Regions from separate parts of the Homo sapiens genome. Here all the other regions are linked to region 3. The links are contacts of gene promoters, found by promoter capture Hi-C in blood cells and fetal thymus (Javierre and others, 2016). All regions are on one chromosome and are shown on one strand. Each heading gives the region's core, a stretch centred on a gene start or on the middle of the fragment in contact. The rest is flanking DNA. Distances are from core to core; before and after follow the strand shown.

Evidence for each region. The method cuts DNA at HindIII sites, captures the fragments that hold promoters and counts their contacts. A CHiCAGO score of 5 or more calls a contact.
Region 1: a fragment that was not itself captured here is called in contact with the fragment with the promoter of ZNF223 in region 3 in 1 of 17 cell types (naive CD8 T cells); the score reaches 5.3 in naive CD8 T cells.
Region 2: a contact is called between a fragment that was not itself captured here and the fragment with the promoter of ZNF223 in region 3, in 1 of 17 cell types (erythroblasts). The highest score is 5.0, in erythroblasts.

The regions. Positions count from the first base shown.
Region 1 is chr19:43,845,903-43,848,602 of GRCh38, forward strand. It overlaps ZNF283 (zinc finger protein 283), which reads left to right. Exons shown (of 7, transcript NM_181845.2): 7 at 1,037-2,700. Among named protein-coding and RNA genes, the nearest start is that of ZNF283, 20 kb to the left of the region's middle. The HindIII fragment of the contact is 2,596 bases long and covers 1-2,572 here.
Region 2 is chr19:43,870,062-43,872,761 of GRCh38, forward strand. It overlaps ZNF404 (zinc finger protein 404), which reads right to left. Exons shown (of 3, transcript NM_001033719.3): 3 at 2,304-2,700. The coding sequence ends at 2,494. Among named protein-coding and RNA genes, the nearest start is that of ZNF404, 13 kb to the right of the region's middle. The HindIII fragment of the contact is 3,147 bases long and covers 1-2,700 here.
Region 3 is chr19:44,050,727-44,053,426 of GRCh38, forward strand. ZNF223 (zinc finger protein 223) reads left to right here and starts at 1,310. Exons shown (of 5, transcript NM_013361.6): 1 at 1,310-1,469. RefSeq lists enhancers at 976-1,477, 1,297-1,536 and a silencer at 1,197-1,256. The HindIII fragment of the contact is 18,414 bases long and covers 1-2,700 here.

The sequences.
Region 1 (2,700 bases), core at 25-2,524, 200 kb before region 3:
TAATTAACAGTATTAATGTGTTATAAGATGATGTGTGTATCACATTGATTTTTGACAGGGTAGTTTGAGCTTAGTTGAGTGAAAATATGTTTAACAATGGTCAAGAAATAAGTAAACTTAATTGAAAAATAACTCAAAATATTTGTTCTTCCTCTTTTATGAATATCTTCTTAGGAACTTTTTATGCAACCAGAAATTATTTATTAGTAACTCTCAAGATCATTTTGTCTAAGTGAATTGGAGATCTTATAATTTAAAGTGATCCTTAAATAGCAATACAATTACTGTTGATTTTTAAAATTGATAGACATTTAAAATTTTTAAATAAGGTAAAATCTATAGAGTCACATAATTGCAGCATTATATGAAGTTATAAAAATCAATCCTTTTATAAAAATTCTGGCTAATAAATCTAAGTAAATGTAAAATTTAATTGAACTTTATATTTTTACAATTGTGAACATTTATGAAAGCAATGTTTGCTTTATCTCAGGGGTTGGAAAACTCTGGCTCTGGAGGCCAAATCCACCTGTTTTTGCAAATAAAGTTGTATTGGAACATAGTCTTGCCCATTTGTTTATATGTTTACATATTGCCCATGGCTGCCTTGATAAAATGGCAGAGTTGCGACCATTGAGTTGTTAGACAAAAGAGTTGTTAGACAAAACAAAATCAGCCAAAGCTCATTATGATAAGAATTTGATTCCCATTAAGATACATTGGATGACCACAACTGGGCACATAAGGGCTTGATTGATGGAAGCTGACATTTGGTTTGAGGGAACATCAGCGTGGGAAAATGAGGGACTTGTTGAAGCGACCTCTGTGGAATCCTCCAGAAAACTATAAAATCAGAACATTCAGATCACAAGAGCTGCAAAATCAAGGCTGAGTTTGTTATTTAACAAGGGAGTGCCTTAATGCCAAGGAGTGAGTTCAGTAAGTCTCCTAATTTGTCTTTTATTTCTACTGTAGTTTTTTTTTTTTTTTCCCTAGTGAAGGAAATAAAATGTGTGGTTTTCTTGTTTTCTTTCAGATTTGGAGTCAAAAACGTATGAGACCAAAAAAATATTTTCAGAAAATGATATTTTTGAAATAAATTTTTCCCAGTGGGAGATGAAGGACAAAAGTAAAACCCTTGGCCTTGAGGCATCCATCTTCAGAAATAATTGGAAGTGCAAAAGCATATTCGAGGGACTAAAAGGACATCAAGAGGGATACTTCAGTCAAATGATAATCAGCTATGAAAAAATACCTTCTTACAGAAAAAGTAAATCTCTTACTCCACATCAAAGAATTCATAATACAGAGAAATCCTATGTTTGTAAGGAATGTGGGAAGGCTTGCAGTCATGGCTCAAAACTTGTTCAACATGAGAGAACTCATACAGCTGAAAAACACTTTGAATGTAAAGAATGTGGGAAGAATTATTTAAGTGCCTATCAACTCAATGTGCATCAGAGATTTCATACTGGTGAGAAACCCTATGAGTGTAAGGAATGTGGGAAGACCTTTAGCTGGGGATCAAGCCTTGTTAAACATGAGAGAATTCACACTGGTGAGAAACCCTATGAATGTAAAGAATGTGGGAAGGCCTTTAGTCGTGGCTATCACCTTACCCAACATCAGAAAATTCATACTGGTGTGAAATCTTATAAATGTAAGGAATGTGGGAAGGCCTTTTTTTGGGGCTCAAGCCTTGCTAAACATGAGATAATTCATACAGGTGAGAAACCTTATAAATGTAAAGAATGTGGGAAGGCCTTCAGTCGTGGCTATCAGCTTACTCAGCATCAGAAAATCCATACTGGTAAGAAACCTTATGAATGTAAAATATGTGGAAAGGCTTTTTGTTGGGGCTATCAACTTACTCGACATCAGATATTTCATACTGGTGAGAAACCCTATGAATGCAAGGAATGTGGGAAGGCTTTTAATTGCGGATCAAGTCTTATTCAACATGAAAGAATTCATACTGGTGAGAAACCTTATGAATGTAAAGAATGTGGAAAGGCCTTTAGTCGTGGCTATCACCTTTCTCAACATCAGAAAATCCATACTGGTGAGAAACCTTTTGAATGTAAGGAATGTGGGAAGGCCTTTAGTTGGGGTTCAAGCCTTGTTAAACATGAGAGAGTTCATACTGGTGAGAAATCCCATGAATGTAAAGAATGCGGAAAGACCTTTTGTAGTGGGTATCAACTTACTCGACATCAGGTATTTCACACTGGTGAGAAACCCTATGAATGTAAGGAATGTGGGAAGGCTTTTAATTGTGGATCAAGCCTTGTTCAACATGAAAGAATCCATACAGGGGAGAAACCCTATGAATGTAAAGAATGTGGGAAGGCTTTTAGTCGTGGCTATCACCTTACTCAACATCAGAAAATTCATACCGGTGAGAAACCTTTCAAATGTAAGGAATGTGGGAAGGCCTTCAGTTGGGGTTCAAGCCTAGTTAAGCATGAGAGAGTCCATACTAATGAGAAGTCTTATGAATGTAAAGACTGTGGGAAGGCCTTTGGTAGTGGCTATCAACTTAGTGTTCATCAGAGATTTCATACTGGTGAGAAGCTTTATCAACGTAAGGAATTCGGGAAGACCTTTACTTGTGGCTCAAAACTTGTTCATGAGAGAACTCATAGTAATGATAAACCCTACAAATATAACGAATGTGGGGAAGCCTTTCTGTGGACAACT
Region 2 (2,700 bases), core at 148-2,647, 180 kb before region 3:
AATCTTAGTAAAGAAATAGGAACTATAAAAGTACTAAAGGAAAATTCTAGAACTGAAAAATGTAATATCTGAAATTAAACAATTTGATAGATAGGCTTAGCAGCAGAACTGAAATGACAGAGAAAAAGAATAAGTGAATTTGAAAACAGAGTAACAGAAGTTGTCCAAGCTGAAGAACAGAAAAAAAATACTGAAGATAAATAACAAAGACAGTGACCTGTGGGACAGTACCAAAAGATTTAACGTATGAGTAGAGTAAATGCAGAAAAAATATTTGAAGATATAATGGCCAAGAATTTCTGGAATTTGGTGAAAGGCACATGTGTGCAAATTTCAGAGGCTCAGAGTACCCCAAGCAGAATTAACACAAAGAAAACCATACCTAGGCACCTCATACTCAAACAGCTGAAAACCAAAAGTAATAAGAAAATCTGGAAAGCACCCAGAGAAAAAGGACACATTACATAAGAGAAAAAACAATTCAAATGACTTCTTCTTGTAAACTATGGAGACTTGAAGACCAGAAGTCGGTGATTTATATATACATATATGAAACAATATATATCTCTTTATGAGTATATATATGTGTGTGTATTCTTTGTGTGTGTGCATATACACACACATATATTCATATATCTCCAAAAAACTGCCAACCCAGAATTCTATAGCCAGAAGAAATCCTTAAAAAATAAAGGCATTTCAGTAAAAGAAACTATGAAAATTCATCACCAGCAGACGTTCACTCCAAGAAATGCTAAGTTAAGTTCCTCAAACTGTAGGGAAATGATACCAGAGAAAAATTCAGATCTCTGGAAAGAAATAAACAGCATGGGAAATAGTAAATATATGGGTAAATATAAAAGATGAGGATTTTCATCTTAATTTCTTTAAGCAACTGGGTGTAGCACTGTGTGCCTATAGTCCCAGCTACTCCAGAGGTTGAGGCAGGAGGATTGCCTGAGCTCAGGAGTTCAAGGCTGTAGTGTGCTATATAACATCTGTGAATAGCCACTGAATTCCAGCCTGGGCAACATAGCAATACCCCATCTCTAAAAATAGAATACAGAAGACTGTTCAAATTTCCAACATGACTTTCCATGGATTACTTATTTAATTGCAAAGAAAAAATTCACCCATAACAATGGAAGGAGCTGGTGGTCAATACATGAATCAAGGGATAAAACATAGTTTCACTTGTAGGCCACCTGATACTTTACAATATTAAGTACATGATACTATCTATGAAGTAGTCTTTTGAAAATGTTTAATCTGAAACCCAATCAAGCCTCTAATCATAACCTCCAGGTCACAGTAAATATAGAGGACAAAGAAACAAGTTAATCACACCTCCAGAAACAATAAGACAAACACAGCATGTGCAACACTATTTAGGTCAAATCTAAAGTCTTCAAAAAGTCTATGTCACAAAATGATGAAGGGTAGGCTCTTGACTAAAAGAGACTTAATAAGCCATAATCATATAAAATATATGAGATTAGTTTGGTTCTTGGCTTGTGAAAAAGACAGTGCTAAAAGACATTATTTTAAAAATTGGAGAAATTTGCAAATGGAGTGAATATTTTAAGACATTATAGGGTTACTGTTAATTTTTTTGTGACAATGGTGTAGTAGACATCTAGAAGATTATCTTTGATCCTAGCAGTTGTATGTTGCCTTTTTTTTAGAGGTGAATGATACCTAAAACATTCACTCAAAAAACAGGAAAAGTGATATATGTAATATATACATATATTCATGTGTAATAAGTATGATATATATATATATGCATCTGTGTATATACATAGACATAAGACATGCATGGTATATATGTATTTGTGTGTATATATGTGTTAGTATACACATAAAAAAGAGAGACATCAGATGTACTGAAACTAGGTGAAGGGCAAACAAGCCTTCACTGCACCACTGTAAACAGCTACCTTTTCTGTAAGGATGTAAATCTTAACATTTTCATAAACTTAGGGAAAACTTTTCCAAGTTAATATCTGTCTTTTGGCTACCTAACTGTTCATTTCTAATTTATTTTAATTGTAGAGGATGCAAAATATGTGTTATCTGTATTATAGGATTTGTGAAAAAATTTCTTTAAACCACTCTCTAATTTTCAACAGCTATCCTTTCATTATTCAATAAATACACATTATTTATTCCAGCATTAATCTTCAGGGGTATGAATTCTGAATTTAAAAATTTCTCATTTAATATATTCTACAGGATTTTGTCCAGAATAAATTATATGAAGTGATGATAGAGCATTTTCAAAATATCACACTCATAGGGTCTTCCTTCTATAAGATTTATTTTTAGTAATTCTAACAATTATCATAAAAATAATGTATTTAGTAAGCAAATACGATGTGCCAGATGCCTTTCCAAGTATTTATATTCTATATTAACTAGTTTAATCTTCACTATAGCATCATAATAGTGACAACAGTAAAAATGTGCCATGGCTAAAGGCTTTCCCTCTCATTACATTAAGAGTCTCTCACCATGGTGAAATCTTTGATGTTGACTAAGTTGATAGCAATGACTAAAGGCCTTACCACATTCTTTGCATTTCTGTGGTTTCACACCAGTATGAATTGTCTCATGTTGAGTAAGTCGATCACTGCGATTAAAGGCCTTATCACATTCTTTACATTCATAGGGTTTTTCACCAGTATGAATTCTCTTATG
Region 3 (2,700 bases), core at 60-2,559:
GAAAGCGTGCCTGCTACTCTCTCCCTTCTGGTTACAACTTATTTCTGCCCATGAAAAAGCCAGCTCAACTGCCTAATAGATAAGGCACCAAGCCAGCACACAGACCCCTTCCCTCTTCCTCCCCTACCTTTTAAAAGTGCCTGCTTTCTGCTCTAAAAGCCAAGCCGTGCACTTAAAGACAACACCTGTGCTACTTCCCCTACGCTAGCTCTAGAATAAATCACTTTCTTTATACCAGATCTCCCTCTTGTTAACTGGACGTTGCAAACGGGAAGCCACTGATCTACTTTTCAGTTACAGGGGCTGATGCTTTCCTGGCTTCTCATTGCCCCTCCCAACCCATTCTACCTGGCTCATTCTTTAAACCAGTGGTCCCCAACCGTTTTAGCACCATGGACCGGTTTTGTGGAAGACAATTTTTCCACGGACTGGGGAATGGTTTCGGGATGAAACTGTTCCACCTCAGCCATTAGATTCTCATAAGGAGCGCCTGACCTAGATCCTTCGCACGCACAGTTCACAATAGGATCCGCGCTCCTATGAGAATGTAATGCTGGGCTGATCTCACAGGAGGTGGAGCTCAGGCCATAATGCTCCCTCACCTGCCGCTCACTTCCTGCTGTGCCGCCCGGTTCCTAACAGTCAGTGGACCGGTACAGGTCTGTGGCCCTGGAGTTGGATATCCTTGCTTTAAACCCTGAGCCTCCTTTCAGCCATCTGACGGCTCAACAGTCACTCTATCTAGCTCCTTGAATATTGTATCTCCTCGCTTGTTCCCTGTCCAAGAACACTCCTGTCAATCATGGGAGACATTTAGACTTCATAAATTCTTTCTATTCAATATTTTCGCTCGAGGACTCTGGGAAGGACAACTGTCAGGGTAACAGTCTGCATTCCCCACCAGGAACCTGGGGCTATGAAATTCGTTCCCCGTGGGTGTTGCGGGAAGTGTAATCGAGGAGCACCATGTAGTCGCAACACTTGAGCCTAAAGGGTGAGGTGATGGACATTTTCCTTTTGCATCTGAGGCTCTGCAGTCCAGACACCTTGCGGGATTCCTGATACTTCAGCTCAGGTAGGCGTTTCCGGAGAATTCTGGGAAGAGTAGTCCATTTTACGGGAAGTGTAGTCCACTGGCTCGTGGAACACTGGGTATTTTGGCTCTGGCAGGTGAACCGTTGAATTCTGGGAACGATAGTCCAGACACTCTGCGGAGTCCCGGGCCCTTTGGCTCAGGGGGGCGGGTCCGGGGAATTCTGGGGAGTGGAGTCCAGACACTCTGGCGCAGAGAGGACACTTCCGGTCTCCTAGTCTGAGGTTCCTGCTTTAATGACCGGGGTAGTTTGAGCCATTTCTGCGTCTTGCAGGACATTTTGAACGAACCCCCTTTGCTTGAGGCTCGCAACCACCCGATGATCGATGATCGTCTCAGGGGAAAAGAAGCCTTGGCGAAGAGCAGAGGTTTAGAGGTGCGAGGGCGGGGAGGGTGTTTATTGTTCCCGTCAGCGGAGCCTTCTGGCGTCGGGGGGCTTTGCTCGCCTCCCGGGGGGTGGGATTGGGGTGGCCTTGTGTGCCCTGCTCTGAGGGTTTCCAGGACTTTGACCTCGCTCAGTCCGCCTCCCTACGTATGCAGTGTGTACACTCTTTCTCGCAGTGTGATGTGGAATGTTAATGTCTCTGTACTTCCCATTGCTGTTCTTTAAAATGGTGCTTATAGGGTCATCCTAATAGAATTGTTTTGCGAATTGAAAGAGATAATACAAATGAAAGCCTTAAAGTTGTCCCTGTCACTTGGTGAGTGGTCTCTTGTTGCCTGATATTTTAAAACGTTTGATATCATTTCAAAGCTATAGAAAAATTGCAAAAACAGTATAAGAAATTCTCATATACCCTTTACCCAAATTTGCCAAGTGTTTACATTTTTCCTGTTTGCTTTGTTGATGACCATCAACCAAATACCACCAGGAACATACCTGTAACCAGAGACAGCTGATTGGTAGCTTTCTGCAGCAAGGAAGCCCACATACCACGGTAATTGTGGGGTGTCTTGGTAAGAGGCATTTAGGAAGGGCTGGTTATAGGGTTTCACATAACATGGTAGATAATATTGGATATTATGTTAAATAATACTGTTACCGATTACATGTCAGATAGATGTGTTAAAAGAATACTAGTATTTGTAGTGTACTTACTAGATAGTGTTGGATAGCATATTACCTAGCATCATGTTATCTAATCTGCAGTTCCATATACGAATTTGTTAAATTTTTCATTTAAAGTCCTTATGACTGTCCTCTGCCCCACCCTTCACCTATTCAAAGTCCAGTTTATGCGTTGTCTTTAGCTGTCACATTTCCATAGTTGTTCATTTGGAGTTTGATATTGAAGGGGGCCTGCCTCTCCACACCTGTGGGTGTTTCTCACAAGGTGGAAATGAGAAACTGAGAAAAGAAATAAGACACAGACACAAAGTATAGAGGAAGAAAAGTGGGCCCAGGGGACCGGCGCTCAGCAAATGAGGACCTGTACCGGCACTGGTCTCTGAGTTCCCTCAGTATTTATTGATCACTATCTCTACTATCTTGGTGAGGGGGATGTGGAAGGACTATAGGGTAATGGTGGGGAGAGGGTCAGCCGGAAAACATGTGAGCAAAGGACTCTGTCATAAATAAGTTTAAGGAAAGGAGTTGTGCCTGGATG